Linked DNA regions of Homo sapiens: region 1 is linked to region 2. Evidence: promoter capture Hi-C in 16 types of primary human blood cells and fetal thymus (Javierre and others, 2016). All regions are on one chromosome and are shown on one strand. Each heading gives the region's core, a stretch centred on a gene start or on the middle of the fragment in contact. The rest is flanking DNA. Distances are from core to core; before and after follow the strand shown. Region 1 overlaps GALNTL6 (polypeptide N-acetylgalactosaminyltransferase like 6). Region 2 holds the start of HAND2 (heart and neural crest derivatives expressed 2).

The links. The method cuts DNA at HindIII sites, captures the fragments that hold promoters and counts their contacts. A CHiCAGO score of 5 or more calls a contact.
Region 1: a fragment that was not itself captured here is called in contact with the fragment with the promoter of HAND2 in region 2 in 2 of 17 cell types (total CD4 T cells and total CD8 T cells); the score reaches 6.0 in total CD4 T cells.

Annotation. Positions count from the first base shown.
Region 1 is chr4:173,012,262-173,014,961 of GRCh38, forward strand. The region is part of intron 11 of GALNTL6 (polypeptide N-acetylgalactosaminyltransferase like 6); the gene reads left to right. Among named protein-coding and RNA genes, the nearest start is that of GALNT7, 160 kb to the right of the region's middle. The HindIII fragment of the contact is 557 bases long and covers 1,043-1,599 here.
Region 2 is chr4:173,528,880-173,531,579 of GRCh38, forward strand. It overlaps HAND2 (heart and neural crest derivatives expressed 2), which reads right to left and starts at 1,350. Exons shown (of 2, transcript NM_021973.3): 1 at 1-1,350. The coding sequence starts at 410. HAND2-AS1 (HAND2 antisense RNA 1) reads left to right here and starts at 1,492. Exons shown (of 5, transcript NR_136196.1): 1 at 1,492-1,660; 2 at 2,088-2,199. The HindIII fragment of the contact is 6,850 bases long and covers 1-2,700 here.

The DNA.
Region 1 (2,700 bases), core at 71-2,570, 520 kb before region 2:
TAGAAAAGGTCCACCATGCCCAGCGCAGGATGTTAAAGAGTTGTCCAGATGTGTTGAGATTCACCTCCCTCGCCCCACCTCACTGCCCCTCCCTGCCCTCTACCACGCATTACAATGCAGAGCATCATGATGCGAGGAAAACAGCCACAGAACAAGTCCACAATACAATCCAGAGATGTTCAGTCCATCAACAGTGCCTCTCCCCTAACCACTGATCCAATCTTTGAACCCTCTCCCCACAGCCTCATGGTATTCTAGGAGGACTGTGGGCCTTGTAGCCAGGCCAACCTGGATTTTAGTTTAAACCATGTGGCCTTGTGAAGTTGTGAAATCTTTCTAGGCCATAGTTCTTCCATCTTGGACAGGGTGGTTAGGAGAATAAATCTTGGGGCAGCATCTTGCACATGCAGCAGGTGCAGAGTAATATCCTCTCCCTCCTGCCTTCCTTCTCTCAAACACTCACAAATCCCTTTATGCTAATACCAAATTAGAAACCTCTCTCAGGTCCAAGGCAGCTGGGACTTTGGCTTCATTTATCTGTTCCCAGCATAGTCAGCAAATACTAGTTATTATTCACTCAAATGCGCCCTGCATGGCTGGGCACGGTGACTCGCGCCTATAATCCCAGCACTTTGGGAGGCTGAGGCGGGTGGCTCACTTGAGGTCAGGAGTTCGAGACCAGCCTGGCTAACATTTTGAAACCCCGTCTCTACTAAAAATACAAAAATCAGCCAGGCGTGGTGGCTGATTATATACATATATCCAGAGGGGTTTATAGAAGGCTCTGTGACTCCCAGATTTATTGATAGGAATCAAATATCAGTGAAAAGTTATTTGCCTCCTCCTTCCTCTGTCTGTTTCTATAAGCTCCATGGGGATGTTACTGGGGACCTGAGGAATGGTGTTGGACTGTTAACTCCAACAAGCAATTCTGACTTCAGCCTGGGAGCAAGAGAGAAGGCTTTAGAAGCTATCGGTAAGGCTGGCATCTAGAGTGGAAAAGAACTTTTTTAAAAAGAAAAAGGAGGAAACCATAAGGAAAAGCTTCATTTCTTGGGCTAAATTCCTCTCTACCATCTCTATTCAACCCAACTAAGAAACACACATGGCCAGCTGGTGAATATAAAGCAGGCCTTAATGTCTGAACTGGGCTTAGTATTTCTATCCAGTAATGCTCTAGAATGAAATCTTCTCTGGCCTGCAGATTTTATTTGACAGCGGAACATGGATATAAACAAAGGCAACGATATTGCATACACTTTAAAAATTGCTGGTTCACTCCCCGCACCCCCCACGTCCCCCAACTCCCCACCTCCCACCCCCAGGCTAAAATGCAAAAATCTATGGCCCGTAATTCAAGAAATGGTCACCAGAGGGCAGCACTAGACAAGCAGAAAACTACATAGGCAGAACAGAAAGACCAGTTAATACAGCTCTTTAAAAAGATTTCCTGTCTCTAGAGATCCTAAAAATGAAGCTACAGTAGGATTAAATAAGGTTGATAAGTGGTGGAAAATGCATCATGTTTGAAATATTGCCATATATTGACTTGGAGGTTAAAACATTACAAGCTGTTTCATTCACCAGTAATTAACTGTAAGCTTTATTCAATATATCACTCAGTGACTTACAAGAATTAGGAAGCACTCTTCTACATTTAGATTAAAATTCCTGCATGAGGAAGGCATATCGGAACATGACAATTATGGATTTTCTTTTTAATTCAAAAACATTCAAAAAACACAAAAGGAGACTTATTAGAGTTGAAATAATCCGTTTTTTTCCAAAAAAAAAAGTGGCAAAAATTAAAAAAAGGAAAAAACAAAATTGTTACATGGGAAATAAAAAAGAGTCCATTGAAGGACCTGTATAAGAAAATGCCTTCTGCTGCAGAACACTGGTGGTGACTAACGTGGTTTCTGTGAAGGAAGCAAATGTATGATTCATTTTGCCAGGGCAATCTGCATAGCTGTTTGATATCATGGTAGCATTATGCTTCCTTTAGGGATCAAGAAAGAAAAACAAAAATAGATCCTAATAAGACTATAAGGTCTGGAAAGAACATTCCCCAGCTCCCATTGAGTCCAAGGGAGAGGAGTGGCGGGGAGGAACCCCCTTGGTCTAGTTTGGCTGTTCCCACTCTGCAGGCCCAGCAGCAGGCTCTGATGTCATGCTGGGGAGCAAGTGTTGCAGCCCAGCTTTCGTCCTCCCGAGGAAGCAAACACTGGCTCCCTCTCCAGGGCCTAGGGGAAGGTTCACAAAGACAGAAGCAAGCAAATGTGTGCATCCAGGGGACAGATTTTTTTCCTTTCTTTTTTCTCTCTTTGGGAAAAAAGAGTCTCATTATCAAGACAGAGCGAACTGATGGGTGCAAACTGCAAGGAGAAACATGCTGTATCTCAGGTTTCTGCAAACCTCATAACAATGAAATAAAACATCACAATCCAGACAGAGAAAAATATTTTCTGCTGTCTCAAGTCAGGTAGCAAGAGCAAGAGATAAGTGTATTGGCAGTACCAAATCCAGTGACCTTATTCATATAATACAAACGGACCCAGGCAACATGACACATATCACATTAATATTAAAGCAAAGAAATAAGAGTTAACATTGTGATATGGTTTGGCTGTGTCCCCAAATCTCATCTTGAATTGTAGTTCGCATAATCCCCATGTGTCATGGGAGGGACCCAGTGGGAGG
Region 2 (2,700 bases), core at 100-2,599:
TTGGAGAGTTTGGTGTCGGCGGGTACGTTGGGGATGCACTCGCGCAGTTCGGCGAAGGCGCTGTTGATGCTCTGAGTCCTGCGCCGCTCCTTGCGGTTGGCGGTGCCTCGGCGCTTCACCGGGCGCGGCCCCCCCAGGCCCGGGGGCCCGGCGCCCGGCGGCACCCCCCCGTAATGGGAGTGGTCCAGGCCGGCGGCGCCGCTGGCATACTCGGGGCTGTAGGACAGGGCCATGCTGTAGTCGGGGGGCGACATCTCGGGGTGGCCGATGAGCCAGCCATGGAAGTAGGGGTTCTCCTCATGGCTGCAGCGGCTGGCGGCGGCGGCGGCAGCTGCGGCGGCGGCGGCGGCAAACGGGTAGCCCTCGTGGTGCACCACCGGGTGGTGGGGAAAACCACCTACCAGACTCATTTCGCCCTCCGCGCCCCTCCACGCGCCCCAGCGTGCGCGCAGCCCCGCCGCGCCCTCGGCCCGGGCCCCTGCCTCAGCGCTCGGCGTCCTCCCCCACCCCCCACCCCCCAGCCCCCGGGCGCCCGGGCCCGCCCGGCAGCCGCAGAGGGGGCTGCTGCAGCCCGGGCCCCGTCCCCCCGCCTGGCCAGCCGGGCCCGCCTCAGCAGCGCTGCGGCCGCCGGCTCCCCATGGGGCGCGGCGAGCTGGTCCTGGCACCGTGCGCCCCTGGCCGCCGCCGCCGCCGCCTCCGGTTCCCGCCTTGCTCCACGGCCCGCGCTTCGGCTCCTGCTTCCCGGGCTGCTGCGCGGAGGCAGAATCCTCTCGTGCTCATACAAAGGTGCCGGGGCTCCCGCGAGGCTGGTACGCGGAGTCTCGGGAATCCAAGCCCGGGCCGCGGTCCTGGCACCGAAGCTAACCCGGAATCCAGGGGCGAGTCTGAGCCGCGGCTGGAGGAGCCGGTCCAGCTGTGCCGGGGGGCGGCGGGGTCGACTGCTCACTGCAAAGCTACCTCCGTGCGACCCTCCCCTTCCCGCCTCTTCCCCTCCCCCCACCAGCCCGATCTGGGTTCTTGGGCGCTTATTGTTTTAATGAAATTTTTGGTTGTTGTTGTTTTGGTCCTTAAATGTGATTTTAGCTGCGAGTAACGTGTCCTCGCTCCTCTCGCGCTCTCTCGGAGGGTTTTCAGAGAGGTCTCAGTGCATCCATTTTCTCAGATCCTCTCCTTTCGGGGCAAGGATCTGGGGCCCTGAATGAGCCTTGGAGCTCGAAGACCGCGGCTCGGGCTCTCGGAGGGCTCTGCGCGGTGGCCGAGGAAGCTCCGGGGTGACGGCGGTGGTTCTCCTGGGCTGGACGACGTGAGGGGAGCAAGCGGATTTTCCCAGCAAGATCTCCATGTACAGCTACATCTTTAGGGCCGCTCGGGTTAATATATGTCGTCAGAGGCTCCTCACGCCAATCCCGGGGCGGCAGGGGCGGCGCCTCGAGCTCTCGGCAATAAAACTTTTTGATGTTCACGTTGCTAATTGCCGAGGTCCTCTTCCAGGATTGGCTACCTCCTCATAACCATAAGATAATTAAAACTTGGCGGGGGGGGGGGGCAGGGTTAAAAAAACTTTTTTTATCAGTCAGAGGATAATGCAAGTGTTTAACAGATGCTTCACTATTAAAATATTTTCCCCCCAAGTCTCAAATATTGAAGAATCTCTAACCAGGTACAGTATCACTCTGCTCTCTTTTCTGGTTGAAAAGAAAGAAAGAAAGAAAACGCAGGTATTGCTTTTCGAAGTGCTTTGTAGGTAATCGAGGTAAGAAAATATACGCAGGCAGCCTCTTACAATTTTATGCAGGGGCGCCGGGAGCCTCGTGACGGGCGGTGGGGGCCCCCACAAAGGCGCGGCTGGGAGCTGGCGCTCTTTGCCCCAGCAGGGACGAGGAGCGGCTGGAGAAGGGTGTTTCTTTGACCCGTTTACAGGCTCGAAACGCCGGTCTCAGTGGCTATTGAGTTACCCACCAAGTTACCCCGGTTAGAGCTGTTTGGGGTGGCTCACGTTATTGCGGCAAACTTTGGAGATGACGGCTGAGTCCTCCGGGCGAACATGTCAAGCCGATTGTAAATGCTGTTATTTCCACATCCTTCAGGGACACCAGTCCCTACGAAGACCTTGGGCGATTTTGAAGTGCGGGCACCTCGATTCCCCGAATCTGTAGTGTGGCTGGTATCGGTGTTCCCCTGGTTTAACTAGCCTGTTTGGTAAGTAACTGAATATTTTTTACGGCGTGTTCAGAGCTTATTTTCCAGTTTTTATGAACAAACATATAAATATATCTCTGCATTCCTGCCTCCCTCATAAAAGCGGGCATCTGTGGAAAGCAGGTTTAGTTATCGGAGGGGAACCATTAAACGCCAGTTTAAGAGGCAGGCCGGGAGGACGGCTCGTGGATGTTGAGACTGCTGGCCTTGGTGATCTTGAACGCATTATAACGGAAAATGGATCTCCACTTGTAAGTCACCGGGCCGCGGGGCACCCGGGCCGCAGCGCCCGTGTGGCATGAGCTTCTTGAGAAGGCTCACGTGCGGCGAGGGCGGGTGGTAAATGGCAGGAGCTGAAATCACCCCAGGCTTGGCCCCAAGCCGAGAGGGGAGGCTGATGTGTATATGCAGATTCCACCCGAAGGAGTTCGGTGTGGAAAACGGTGTCAACAGGAGCCCGCGGGCTGTAAATTAGAGGGAGGCGAGGGCCTGCGGCGCCAG